Regions from separate parts of the Homo sapiens genome. Here regions 1 and 2 are each linked to region 3. The links are contacts of gene promoters, found by promoter capture Hi-C in blood cells and fetal thymus (Javierre and others, 2016). All regions are on one chromosome and are shown on one strand. Each heading gives the region's core, a stretch centred on a gene start or on the middle of the fragment in contact. The rest is flanking DNA. Distances are from core to core; before and after follow the strand shown. Region 1 overlaps FNDC3B (fibronectin type III domain containing 3B). Region 2 overlaps SLC2A2 (solute carrier family 2 member 2). Region 3 holds the start of TMEM212 (transmembrane protein 212).

What was found. The method cuts DNA at HindIII sites, captures the fragments that hold promoters and counts their contacts. A CHiCAGO score of 5 or more calls a contact.
Region 1: a fragment that was not itself captured here is called in contact with the fragment with the promoter of TMEM212 in region 3 in 1 of 17 cell types (neutrophils); the score reaches 5.2 in neutrophils.
Region 2: a contact is called between a fragment that was not itself captured here and the fragment with the promoter of TMEM212 in region 3, in 1 of 17 cell types (fetal thymus). The highest score is 5.1, in fetal thymus.

What each region holds. Positions count from the first base shown.
Region 1 is chr3:172,361,307-172,366,233 of GRCh38, forward strand. FNDC3B (fibronectin type III domain containing 3B) reads left to right here. Exons shown (of 26, transcript NM_022763.4): 23 at 1,327-1,539. Among named protein-coding and RNA genes, the nearest start is that of GHSR, 85 kb to the right of the region's middle. The HindIII fragment of the contact is 1,215 bases long and covers 1,567-2,781 here.
Region 2 is chr3:171,009,771-171,014,106 of GRCh38, forward strand. It overlaps SLC2A2 (solute carrier family 2 member 2), which reads right to left. Exons shown (of 11, transcript NM_000340.2): 4 at 188-312. Among named protein-coding and RNA genes, the nearest start is that of SLC2A2, 15 kb to the right of the region's middle. The HindIII fragment of the contact is 1,546 bases long and covers 703-2,248 here.
Region 3 is chr3:171,841,629-171,846,251 of GRCh38, forward strand. TMEM212 (transmembrane protein 212) reads left to right here and starts at 1,721. Exons shown (of 5, transcript NM_001164436.2): 1 at 1,721-1,914. The coding sequence starts at 1,756. The HindIII fragment of the contact is 2,451 bases long and covers 303-2,753 here.

The DNA.
Region 1 (4,927 bases), core at 924-3,423, 520 kb after region 3:
CTCTGCTTCCCTTTTAATTATAAGTTCTAACTTTAAGTCATTCCTTTGCTCCCATATCTGATCATAGGTTGTTAGAAGCAGCCAGGTCACCTCTTGAACACTTTACTCTTAGAAATTTATTTTGCCAGATACCCTAAGTTATCACTCTTAAGTTCAGCCTTCCACAAAGCCCTAGGACATGGAAACAATGCAGCCAAGTTCTTTGCTCCAGTTCCCAAAAGTTCCTCATTTCCATCTGAGACCTCCGCAGCATGGCCTTCACTGCCCATATTTCCATCAGCGCTTTGGTCATGACCACTTATTCAGTGTCTAAGAAGTTCCAGACTTTCCTGTCTTCTTCTGAGCCCTCCAGACTCTTCCAGTGTCTGCCCATTACCCACTTCCAAAGCCAGTTCCACATTTTCAGGTATCTTTATAGCAACCCTCTACTCCTCAATATCAATTTTCTTTTAGTTCATTTTGTGTTGCCAAACAATTCTCCCACCACAACCTCCCAAGTACTGGGACCACAGGCATGTGTCACTATGCCCACTAAATTATTTTTTTGTAGAGATGGAGTCTCACTAGGTGGCCCAGCCTGGTCTCAAACTCCTGGACTCAGGCAATCCTCCTGCCTCGGCTTCTCAAAGTGCTGGAATTACAGGTGTAAGCCACCACGCCTGGCCTAAAATAACATTTTATATATACATTTTAACTCTTCGATTTTAAATTCATGGATGATTAAGGTAATATGTTTCTTATCCATAACTCTGTGCTACACATAGCAAACATCCAGCTAAGATTTTTGCACATCTGGATGCCATCCCATTACTAACAATATCTGCATGCTTAGCTCTAGATAAGGACTTGCAGAGATTGTTGGATGAGGCTGGCAAAAGGGAGACATGAAATGTCCTGTTGATGAGTTGTCCTGTGTTTTTGACTCTGAAGGAGACTCATTTGTTCCCCCATTTCATTTACTCTTGATAGCTCACCTACTTCCAAAACTGACCATGAGGTAGCTAAACGGTAGCTAGGACAAAATATAAAAGCGTATCTTTAAGATATCTTCCCTGAGACAACAAACCTATTTTTTTTAAATTAAAGAACTAAGAGATATCTTGCTACCGTGCTTTTTTGCTATTTTTTTTTTAAATGGAGACTATAGTCTGTCCACTGAGCAACCCCGTGCTTCTATTTGTCTTGAGTTACTTTAACTTGTTTTTCTTCATTCTATGTTATTGCTTTAGGGACAAGTAATAAATACTATGCTCAATGTTTATTTCGAATGAAGAATTGCTGCTGCTTTAACCTGCATTGTCTGTATTTTTTTTTTCCTTTCTCTAGGATCAGAATTCAGGCTATAAATGAAATTGGAGCTGGACCATTTAGTCAGTTCATTAAAGCAAAAACTCGGCCATTACCACCCTTGCCTCCTAGGCTAGAATGTGCTGCTGCTGGTCCTCAGAGCCTGAAGCTAAAATGGGGAGACAGTAACTCCAAGACACATGCTGCTGAGGACATTGTGTACACACTACAGCTGGAGGACAGAAACAAGAGGTGAGGTGGGGGTGAGGATGCTCCTGAAGCTTCTGTAGCTTTGGCTTGTGGGATGAAATCTCAATTGTACATTTTTATTTGCTTGCACTAAGACCCTCTTCCTTCTTGTTCAGAGGCTTCCTTTGACTTGAGCCCTGCGTTTTATACCCGGAGTCGTTCCTTTTATTCTCTATTTGGAATTTCTAAACATTCTAAAGATCCTGATTTCCCTACATAGCATAATATGCACTTTTTTTTCCTTTCATCAAGCCAGATAATGGAGAGAAAGTATCTAAAGAAAATTGTCAAATTCAAGTTCACACTATGTAATAGCATTATATTAGTCATGAGTGCAGAGGGAAATAAGACCCAGGAAGAGATGTTACCTCTTTAAATATTCAGTAACCATCAGGACAAACATGTTTACCAATGTGAAATAGCTGTGGGTGATGTACAGATGGGGACTGTACTCTGTAACTATGGGCAATGCAATATCAAATTAACCAGAGCAAATAGGAGATTCTTCATAAAACTCCATACCCAGGAAACATTCTTGGCTGTCAAAATCAAATGTAGCCTTTCACGTAGTATTTGTTTAACCTAACTTCATTTCCTCTGAAAATGTCCGATCAGAAGACAGCCAAACTGTATTTAGAAATAATCCAATGTCAAGCAAAAGTTAATGGTGACAGAATGTTCTGTTACCAAAAGTCCTAATCAGACAATCAGGTAAAGGGAATGGGAGATCACCATAAAACCAAAACAACCAAAATGCTACTTCCCTGCTTACCTACTGACACACAAAACCAGTGTCAGGATAGAAGCATTTCTGTTATTTCCTTTTATGCATGATACTATTCTGTTCCTTCACGTATGGAACCCATTCTAGTTACACGGAAAACCCTGTCCCAGTCTCCACCCCCTACTCTGCAGTCAAGCACTTTGATGGATTTCAGTACAGTGGAGTCCTGTGGGCCTTCAGTGGAGACCAAGATTAGAAATCACATAAGACCCTACCTCTAGAAGCATAGTATCAATTTTTAAAATGGCCATAGAACATTAGTGTCAGAGGAAAAAATTGCTTTGGGAGTTTGAAGGAGGCAGAGACCATCTGGTTTAAAAGATCAGGAAAGATTTCTTGAAAGAGGTGACATTTGAGCTTGACTTTGGAGGACCTGGCAAACCTGGTAATTTTTATGACAGAACAAAACGTGATTATCCTCTTGGAAATTAGTTCTAGTGAAGAGAACACAGGGGAGGTAAAGCTTCTTTTGATAGGTTCATGAAAGATTAAATTCATATCCACTGATACACAAGAGCATTCATCTTATTGTGCTATATGTGCCTTCGGATGTGTTTTCATGGGCTTTTTATTTTACTGGCTAGGGACAACTCAACAGGAGAGGGCTGGCAAGAACAGCAATTGTGAACTAACAGAAATCACAATCCATGTATAAAAAAACTAGCATTGGGGGAAATTTTTAAATGTCTTTTCATTTTTTCCCAGACCTGTGGCTTCCATTGGTGGTAAATCCTTAGAAAATAGCTTCTAGTTGTGCTGTTTTAGAAAAAAGTGAAGCACAGAAAAGTTGTTGAAAGTGGTAGCTAGCTGAGTTGGGATAAAGGCCAGTGCCTCCCAATTCCCCGTGCCCTGCCTCCACTGCCATCTTAGAAATGTGGGAAGTGAAGGCTCTGCCCCAAGGGCACCCCCTCTTGCTGCAATCCTGCCCTGTGTGGGGCAGCAGCCCACTAGTGCCTCATAGGGAGAACTATACAAATGTGTAGTCTGATCCAAGGTTTTCCATGACACGGTGGCTCCTGGGCAAAGAACAAAAGCTCCCCAAGCACTTTTCCAAATGAGGTTCCTGGCATGAGGCATTTAAATATGCCAGACAAAAAACAGTGCAGAATCTAGTAATCAATACATGTTGTTTCTTCCCCCCTCAAAAAGCCCAAGGCTTGCCTAATCAAATAAATGACTTGCCTAAATTTAAATGGCAATTTAAGAAAACTTCGCATTAGGAACAGTATTTTTCTTAATTACAGGAGCTAGAGTCCAAATTTATCTTTTTAAATTAGATTTGTCAGTGCTCTCAGAAAGTTATTAAAGTGATGGGAATATAGAGCATAATAAATTCTCATTCTATTTGTGAATAATTTTCCTGAGATTTAATAGAATGAAAACAGCCTAATTTTAGTTTGAAGATGACCTTCCTCAGTGTCTTGAAACTGAACTCTTGTAGTGAGTGGCCTTTTGAATTCAAGCCTTTAACTTTGGATCTTGGCACATGGGTATCAAGGAGAAACAATTTGAGTTGGATACATCATAATACTTTTTATTAGCATAGCCTTTGTCAATCTAGCCTCCTCAAGGTTCTTTAGGACCTGGCTTCTGCAGTTGAAAAGAACAGTGTCTTCCTCCCAAGGGGCAGCTGTCTTTTTCATTGAACTTGTTGCTAGAGGAGCTTCTAGTTTTAAAGCACATACTCTTTAGCGTATGTGTTAATTTCATTAACCACCAGTAAGTTCTTCTTATGCATGTGGCCAAAATAATGATATATCCCGCTTGTGGCCAAGGTGAGAACCATAGATAGGCTTGTTATTTTACTTTTCTTTCTTACCTGCAGGCTCTCAAAGATATTTTTTCTCCTTAAGTTTGAGCATATTTCATGTAAATAAAAGGGATCCCAAAGAGCATCTTGTGCGAACCCTTGGCTCAAGACAACCCAACCTAAAATTCATCTAGATCACCTGGACTTTTATGTTGAAAGGATTTTTCCCCCAGAATAGGACATTTGTTTCCCATCTATTCTGGCTTACAATACTGAAGAGTCCCAGTCCATATTTATGAAGGAAGCAGCCTTAAAGTGTTACCATGAACACTTTATAAACAGGCATTGTGGGCCTTTGAAAAGAAAGCTGCTGATGTCTGAGTTTTATGGGAGTCCTAGCCAGCTGTTTAAGTGTTCTTCTTAACACTTAAGTATATTTTGTAACAGAAGAAAAATGAAAATTAGTATATCTGCGCTTCATAATTATCATATTAAAGAGTTGAGTCGATTTTAGCAACTAAACTATTGCTCTCCAAATTTCCTTAATTCATTAAATAAAGGGGTTAAACTAGAAGACGATCTCTGATATCTTTTCACCTTAAGGCAACAAATCTTTGTAGAGTATTTGTGAATTAAATCCTTTATGAAAAGGTGTCCCTTGTAAATGATTGGGGCATGTTGCCTCTTTTCCTTCATATTTTTAGTTTCTGCTATTCATAAAAAAATAAGAAAAATACTAACTTCCCTTAAGAGTAACTACTTAATGTCCAAAAACCCCTCAGGTTCTGCAACTATGATGCACTGATTTATGATGTTTATTTATATACCTCTCAGAAAATTTGAAATGACCAAGAGAT
Region 2 (4,336 bases), core at 226-2,725, 830 kb before region 3:
TCCTACTTACTGGTCCCAAACCTCCCAACTCAGGATTTCAACTTTATGCTATTGCCTTTCCCTCTGTGATGTCACCCTAGACTCAAAAATATCCCTGAGTGCTACCACATCCGCCTTTAGAGTTACTTTCAGACAAAGGTAGGTGTGTGTGTGTGTGTGTGTGTGTGTGTGTGTGTGTGTGACTTACCACAATATAGTCCTGATATGCTTCTTCCAGCAATTATAAGTATATGAGATGGTCCCAATTTTGAAAACCCCATCAAGAGAGCTCCAACTAATGACAGAATGTTTGCTACTAACATGGCTTTGATTCTGAAATTTTAAAAAGCAAGGAATATAAATTCAGCATCAAAACTTGCTAAAATTATTCGCTTTCAGAGCATGTTGAGATTTTTTTTAACCTAAGAGCAATTATTTTAATTTTGCTGTAAAAGCTAGTTGGGGAATCTTGAACCAAGATTGCTAATTTGACTCATCTATGGACTAAAGTATTACTAATAAGCAAGACTTATGATGGGATAACCTAGGTTGCATCCACCTGATCTCTACATTTTTCTATTTTATTTTGAGACAGGGTCTCACTCGCTCTGTCACTCAGGCTGGAGTGCAAAGGCACCATCATGGTTCATTGAAGTCTTGACCTCCCAGGCTCAAGCCTAATCTCTACATTTTGATAGAGATGATTCAATCCTGGTGAGGACAAGCTTAAGATAACACTTATGACAGTTTTTCAAAGAGTTAACTAAGTTTTCTCTAAGTTGATTGTTTTAAAGAATAATTGTCTGGTGATAGCTAAATTCAATTCTATAGTTGTAACCTACAACTTTTTTTTTCTTTCAATGGCACAGGTTTTTAATCTAGATAGGAAAGGAACTTTCAAAGTTAAATTTCCTTTTGTATAAATTATTTGGAAGTAATTTAAAACATACTTTTAAGCCTTATCTAGAGAATTATAATTATCTGTATTTTAATATTGTATGCCAGCATATTTCCAAAATCTATAAATTATTAGTGACCAATGTAAAATACATAATAGAGCTGACAATAGCAACAAAAACACTTTCAAAATTAATCAGATGAAAATTGACAACATTTGCAGATATCTGTTACTTTTATTTCTAATTAATGGGAAAGCGAGGTACACAGAAAACCTTTTTTGCAGTCAAGCAGATAATGGTAAGGCCAATAAATGCCTGAGTAGACAGGTGTGAAAATGTTTGTGCCAAAAGAAATGTAAACGTCCTTGTTATATTCTATTTCACTGCTTCAAACTTTGATAGGTGGGCCTTTTCCATGCAAGTATCTTTAACACCAACCAAACAGAATTTTTTTTTTCTGGAGCATAAAACTATAAAGTCACATACTGCAGTGATTGTCCAACATCCACGTGATAGGCTAAATCATGTCCCCTGGCAGCCTACAGCATAATCCCCAGACTCTGTAAATGTTACGTCACATAGCAAATGAGGTTTTGCAGATGTGATTGAGAATCTTGAGATGGGGAGATTATCTTCAATTATCTGAGTGAATCCAATGATGTAATCACAAATGTCCTGATAAGAGTAAGGTAGAAGAGGAGCAGGTGATATGATGACAGAAGTAGAGATTAGAATGTTGTGCTTCAAAGATGGAAGAAGGGGCCACAAGCCAGAGAACTATAGTTGGTCACTGCAAGCTGGAAAAGGGCAAGGAATGCATTCTTCCCTCAAAGCCTCCAGAAGGAACCAGCCTTATTGGCATTTTGACTTTAGCTAACTAAAACTGAGTTTGGAATTTTGACCTCCAAAACTATAAGAAAACATATTTGTGTTGTTTTAAGCCACTAAATTGGGGATAATTCATTACAGCAGCAATGTGAAATGAGTATAGGGAAACAGAGTGATTTAGAGCTGGCTAGCCCCAGAGCTACAGAGTAGAAAAATAGTTTAAGGGGTGTTTAGTAGTTTAGACTATTGTGAAATGCTTTTTATCTACACAGGGACAGAGGGCAGGCAAATTCAATAATTGACCTTAACAAGTTGTTACCACCTAGCTAATAGTCTCTTTTATTAGGGGAAAAAAGATAAAAAGTCATAAAAGAAATAGCCTGGAAGAATCTTTGATGCCCTAAAGTCCCCTTTCCCTACCACCAAAGGATGCAGGAACACTTTATGTAATTTAAATTCTTTTAACTTCTGTTCAGATATTAGAAATGGCCACAAATAAATACTTTAAAAAATACATGAAATAGCTGAATCAGGGAAAAAGAAGCTTAATTCTATGTAAGCATATTTCTTAAAATCTGACTCTAAATACTTCAGATAGTATAGGCTCGATTATTGTCGTGGTCATGGTCATTGTCGTCATCATCATCATCATCATCATCATCAAAATGAGGCCACATTTGGTGTTTGCTTAATAAATGTCAGGCATTGTTTTAAACCTTTTATATTTGTTGTCATTAAATCCTCACAATAATGCCATGAGGTAGGTATTATTTTTGTTTTCACATTGCAGATGGGAGGAAAACGTCTTAGAGAACCTAATAACTTGCTCATTTTCATACAGCTATTAAGTGACAGATCTTGGACTTGATCTGTGTGAAACCAAAGGGTAATGTATCATTTTAATGAGTTCCATTTTTGATGGGAAAGAATGCATGCCTTCAAAGGCAAGCTATGCATCGCTTCCTTTACTCATGGTAGTGTGGATTGCACAGACCATAGTCTTCTCTACCGTACCCTGGTAATTAAACTGTAAATGCATAGGTTGGAAAAATTGGCCTTGCAAACCCAAAACTATAAAATGGTGGCCACAGACATCTGTTGACTATTACACAATTGCAAGGAAACACTTTTTTTTTTAAAGGCAATAATGGAAGTATTACATTTTTATTTATTTACTTTTGACTGGTAGATAAATGACACTGGTAATAATGAAAATCATGTCACTTCTCAATGAATCTCTCTAGAAAGATAATTTTATGGGGATACTGATAACTTTGTCTTAATTTTGATGTTGAAGTTATGGACTTTTGGGCTGCTTTTCAAGGGGGATCATTTTATTACTAAAAGCTAGGAGAAACCTCACTTTTTGTTTACCATAGGTCATTTGATACGTGGTCATTTGACATTGTTTTGGGGTATAACCATTGTTGATGCCAAATCCTAAGACTTCAGAGGGTTTGTATATTGGCTCCATTAAATGTTAATTAAATGTTAACACTAATTAAATGTTTTAGGTTAAGTCACTGAACTCATCAGAATCTTACCTCTAAATGAGAGGCAACCAGGGTTTACATTTTTTCTTCAGGAATGAGAAGTAGTATAAAATATCAGTAGTTGCTAAATGATTTGTGCATATTTTAGAACGTAATTTAATTTTGCTTAATTTGATTTACTTAAAAATTTTTTTTAAAATTATTTTTCCTTTTTCCTTTTGTCTGAGCCCACTTGCTAGGAAATAATTTACTTTAGCAATAAATAATTAATCTAGAGAATTCTCCATTTACTACTTAAACCAACTTGATACACATTGAAATTATTTTTGAATTTTTTTAAATGATGAAATTCAGTTTATTAATCCGTATTTTACAGATTCGTATTTAAAGTTCAACTGAACATCAGCAAGTTGATTAAAATATAAGAAATTGACCACTGTCTTTTATGGTGGAGAAAACTCCATTTCAAATAAAAATAATAATAAAACTTGGGTTACCATGATATTGTAGTTAAGAAAACTTATAGTCATATTATATAAAAGCTCCAGTATAAGAGGAAGAGTTATCAGAATTTTAATAACCAGAGAGCTAAAAATTATAATTTATAATAGGAATTGAAAAACTAAGTGAATTATAATCCAGAATTATTAAACTAGTTGCCTAAATTGTTATTTACATCTTTAAAGGCATTTTCACTTTCTAAATTTTTCATATATTATTTTTATCATGAGAAAAAAAGGTAATGCACAAAAGGTGGGCTCAAATAGGAGAAAATCTAAAAAATAATCATTTGATATTCTGGTTTTATCTCCTCTTTATATAGGGTGGGAAATCCTAACAGCTGTAGTCCATTGCATGAATAAGTAAAATTTGAGGGTAAAGGAGTTCCACTGATGTTTTTAATCCAAAAAACCTAACAGAAACTCAAGTGATAAATGGGGGTATCTCTTGCTTCATCTCTGGTTGGGGCTTTGAGATAGCAAGCAGTACCAGCAGCCAGAAACCGCATAACAAATACATTGGGCAATTGGGAGTTGGGGATGTTGACTGAACCTTTGAACTTGACTGATCCGAATGCCAAATTCTAATTTAAAAAGGGAAAACTGGATGTTTGAGACATAGTGTGATTTGGTGAAG
Region 3 (4,623 bases), core at 471-2,970:
TCTGCTCTGATGCAGACAAGGTTGTAGACGCTGGGAATATCTCATACATTTAAGGGATGTATAAGACTTGCAAGGTCTCTGCCCTTGTGAAATTTATCTAGTGGTGTTAGAAAAAAAAAATCAGAGAATATAGCCCACAGTGTTGAGAGGAGATAAGAAATAGCAGCTGTACCAGAAAGCATGAGTTGGTTTCCTGGATTCTGTATATCCAGGAATGCAACTGCTTCAAAATCTGGGTCAAACTGTGGAATGGCTATTAAAGACAGAAAGGCAGAAAGAAAAAAAGCAGAGAATCAGAGAGAAGCTTCTCTTTCCACCACATATGGGAGGGTCCTTTGGGAGTTTTTACCAAATTGTTCAGGAAGAGTTAAACATGATGTTTTTAAGGTGATGAATTTAAAAAAAAACCACAATAAGTGCACCTTTGTCCCACGATGGAAGGACCCCAAAGGTGGAACATCCCAATTTAACAAGAGTAACTTTCTGAACATCTTCGTTATGCTAAACTCTGGGCTAGGCATTTATGGTTTTAGCTCATTTAATCCTCTCAACCAAATCCATTAAAGATAAACACTAACTTTTATTCCCATTTCGCATACGAATAAATAGACCTAGAGAAGTTAAGTAACTTGCCCTTACTCAAGGACACAAACCTGGTAGAGAGTGGAACCAGAATCGGATCACAGCTCCATCTGACTCAAAATCGATGTCCTAAACCACTTCATTTGCATTCATAAAATTATTTTTCATCCTTTTATTTCAGTAAAAAGGAATAATGTATTAATGTTAAATAGGAAAATTATTCAGATGGCTTCAGAAACTGACCTGTGTTTTTAAGATATTTTTTTGAACAGACATCCACATATATCCAATCAGTCAAAATCAAATAACACCATTTTCTCAAATGCATGAAAAAGTAAGAGATGACTTGTAACTGCCTAAATGTACCTAAGTTCAATATCTCAAATTAGAATTATGATTCAAGAATGAATGGGGATCAGCATTTTATTCAACTGATGAATTGCTCCTCAAAGTTTATTTTATTTTATAACTGCATACATTTCCATCATCACACTTTAATTGAAAATTAAATTAATAGTAAAATAAGGTGAAACTGGTTTAGTGAAAACAATGCAAAACTCCATAATAAAGTTCATGCCCATTTGGGAATGAATCCATATCAAAAATCTTTATCAAAAATAATTGTAGTGGAATTAAACTTTGAAAGGAGGTGAAGGTCTTGCTTTGGGTTGAAATCATTTAAATTAAATATAATGAAAAGTGACCAGGGTGCTTATTTTTACTTTGTTTTGTGGGAAATTGTGCTGGGAATGTGGATCTATTGTACACAAAGGATGTTGGCTTTATGCTGGAACCACTAGGCAGGTTGAGTTGAGAAACAATTAGCTCAGTCAGCAAGCCTTTGAATCTGATTAAGCCAGGAAGTGGTCACTCCCCAGGACAGGGCAGAATGAAGGGAATCAAGGCAGCAATCCAAAGCAAGGGATAATTTTTTTCTCTCTTTCTCTTAAATAAATTGTTATTAGAATTTATTGTGTCAAATTTATGCCAAGGACTATTTGAGTACATTTCATCTTTGGTAAAACAAATAGAATCTTGTTTCCAAGTAGATCAACAGTTCGTATGTGTCGTGGCTACTGTCTCTAAGAAACTTCTATTTACTGAGGCCTGTCATACGCTCATGTTTTGGTAACAAAACATCTTTGAGACCAAGGCCTCAAGCCACCAAGGAAAATGAAGGGCCTCTACCAGGCTGCTGGCCGGATTCTTGTTACTCTGGGGATCCTCAGTGTATGCTCTGGAGTTATTGCTTTCTTTCCTGTCTTTTCTTACAAGCCTTGGTTCACAGGATGGAGTGTTCGAATTGCTTGTCCTATCTGGAATGGAGCTTTGGTATGAAAATAGTTTATTAAATATATTGAGAAAATAAAAGAAGGTGGGAGGGAAAGGGAAAACAGAAGAACATATCCTTTTAAATTGTTCTAACAATACAAAGAAGTCAAAATTCCACAAAAAATCAGAATCCGCCTTGGAACATTGATTTCTATTAATTGCATTTTAAGTATAAAAATGATCTTAATATTGTTTTATCATGTATACATGTATATTATGTATTTTTAATGACATGCTGCTCAAGAAATTCTTAAAAAGTTATTTTATTTTAATCCACTTAACTTGATATGCTAAGAAATTAGAATCTTTTGAAATGTGAATTTTGAATTTAGAAAAAAACATAAACCTTGAAAAGTAATTTTAAAATACAGAACAAAGTAAAATAATTTTCAAACTAATGCTTTCATTGCAAACACTAAGATGTACATGGCCCCAAAATTTACAAACCCCAAATATTTGTTTTTCCACCTTTCTCTTGCAAGCAACTGTTTGAACTGAAAATAACTCAATAATTTTCAATTATTTGAAAATAATTCAAATAATTCAATAATTCAAGATGGACTTCACAATTCACTAGGAAAGTACATGTGCCAAGTACAGCGTACGACACTAAGTAGTACTCCGTGTGCGCTCATTGAATCATTGCACAGATAAACGATTGGCCTGGTCCCTTAGCTCTCCAACCAAAAAAAAATGGGCACATCTAGTCTTGGGAGTAACTGGCTTCCATGCTGGTATGATTTAAGAGAAGTTACAGAGACCCACCTGTCCAACAAATCCTTCTCTCATTGATTCCTGTGACGCCTGACACTACTGGAGACTGGAGAATTCAATATTGAAGCTTTTTGATCTTAAGGAATCTTCTATTAAAATGTAGCCACTTGGCCGGGCATGGTGGCTCACGCTTGTAATCCCAGCACTTTGGGAAGCCAAGGGGAGCGGATCACGAGGTCAGGAGTTCGAGACCAGCCTGACCAACATGGCGAAACCCCGTCACTACTAAAAATACAAAAATTAGCTAGGCGTGGTGGCATGCACCTGTAATCCCAGCTACTCAGGAGACTGAGGCAGGAGAATCACATGAACCTGGGAGGCAGAGTTTGCAGTGAGCCGAGATCATACCACTGCACTCCAGCCTGGGTGACAGAGCAAGACTCCATCTCAAAACAAACAAACAAAATGTAGCCACTGTTGTGTGAGATAGTATCTTAAATCTTTAAAAAGTTAAAACTTTAACTGAGATACCACCTAAAAACTAGACCTCAGGAAATATAAATTTTAATCTACTTATTAGATAAATATTTATGAATAGCCCCCTATGTCGTTGAGTTACAATGAAGGATCCAACAAGGTCTTCATCTTAAAGGAACTTGGTCTAGTGGGGTTTGATGAATGTGTGCAGATAGACGGAAGCCAGTGGGATTATGGGAGAGTCGATGGAATGAGGAAACCACAGGGTTATCTTTCTCTTTCTCAGTTTTTTTTTCTTTTTCAATACATTCTTTTGCATCTATCACCCCAATCTTGATCTTCCCTTCTTTTCTCCAACACCTACCTGAAACCACAATTCATTCAAAGAAATATTTGTTTAAGTTCTACTGGAATGCAGAGATGGCAGTTACACTTATTCAAGTGGCTTCCAAACTTTTTTTTGGTGACTCAGAGTCAGAAAAATATTTTAGGTGAGGACCCAGAATGTACATAAATACATCTACATTCTTCTCTCTAGATAAATAGATATCTACATCTATTATGTATATACATGTATAGTAGATGTTTATATATCTATAAAACAAAAGTTGCTCAAAATAGTACTTACCCTCTATGTGAAACATATTCTGATATTTTCTATTTCATTTAATTTTTTTAAAAATTCTGATTTCACAAAGTTTAACAATATCATGATTAGAGTTCAACCCTACATTCTTTTGTTACAGCTGTTTGCCTATCCTTTCAGACTGCAACATAATACATTAAACAAATATTGGTGATTTTGATTAAGATTACAGATGATTGAATGTATTGTTCTAGGCCAAACATCTATTTTTACCAGTTAGGCCCGGAGAAATGATATGATGTGTCTCCAGCACATAGTTAATTGGTAACTGTTTGATTTCAGAGGTGGCAGCATCAGGAAATGGAGTCAGAGATAAAGGATTTAGAGAAGTGGACCTGTTTTCAAGTCCTGACTTTGATGTTCTTGGTAGGAGGTCAAAAGCAGGACCCTCAGCCAGCCAGTTCCTCATTCCCTTTATCTGTAAAATGGGGAATTTTACAGATAAAAAGAGCCCACGTGTAAAACTGTCCAACCCTAAGATGCACAGTGAGAAGGAACACAATTTAAACAAAGATTGTATAATAAAGAGCTTTGCCAATTTTAAAGCCCTCTTCAAATGCTAGTTAATACTATGCCTTTCATTTGTGCCCTACTCTCTGTTCAAGCCCTTTGTTCTTAATCCTGTGTCACCCACCTCACTTTCCTATCCTACTCCCTCGTAACCTGCTGAGTTCTCCATCCTGTTACTTCCTGGACTTCATCTCCTACCACTCTTCCCTTAGGTCACTTCTCTCCCATCACATTGGCTCCTTGCAGTTTTCAAACATGCCATGATGTGTTTCTGCCTCAGGGCCTTTGCACTACCTGCCCTCTGCCTAAAGCCTCTTCCTGAACTTGGCTCACTCCCTAGTCTCCTTCAATTCTTGATTAAT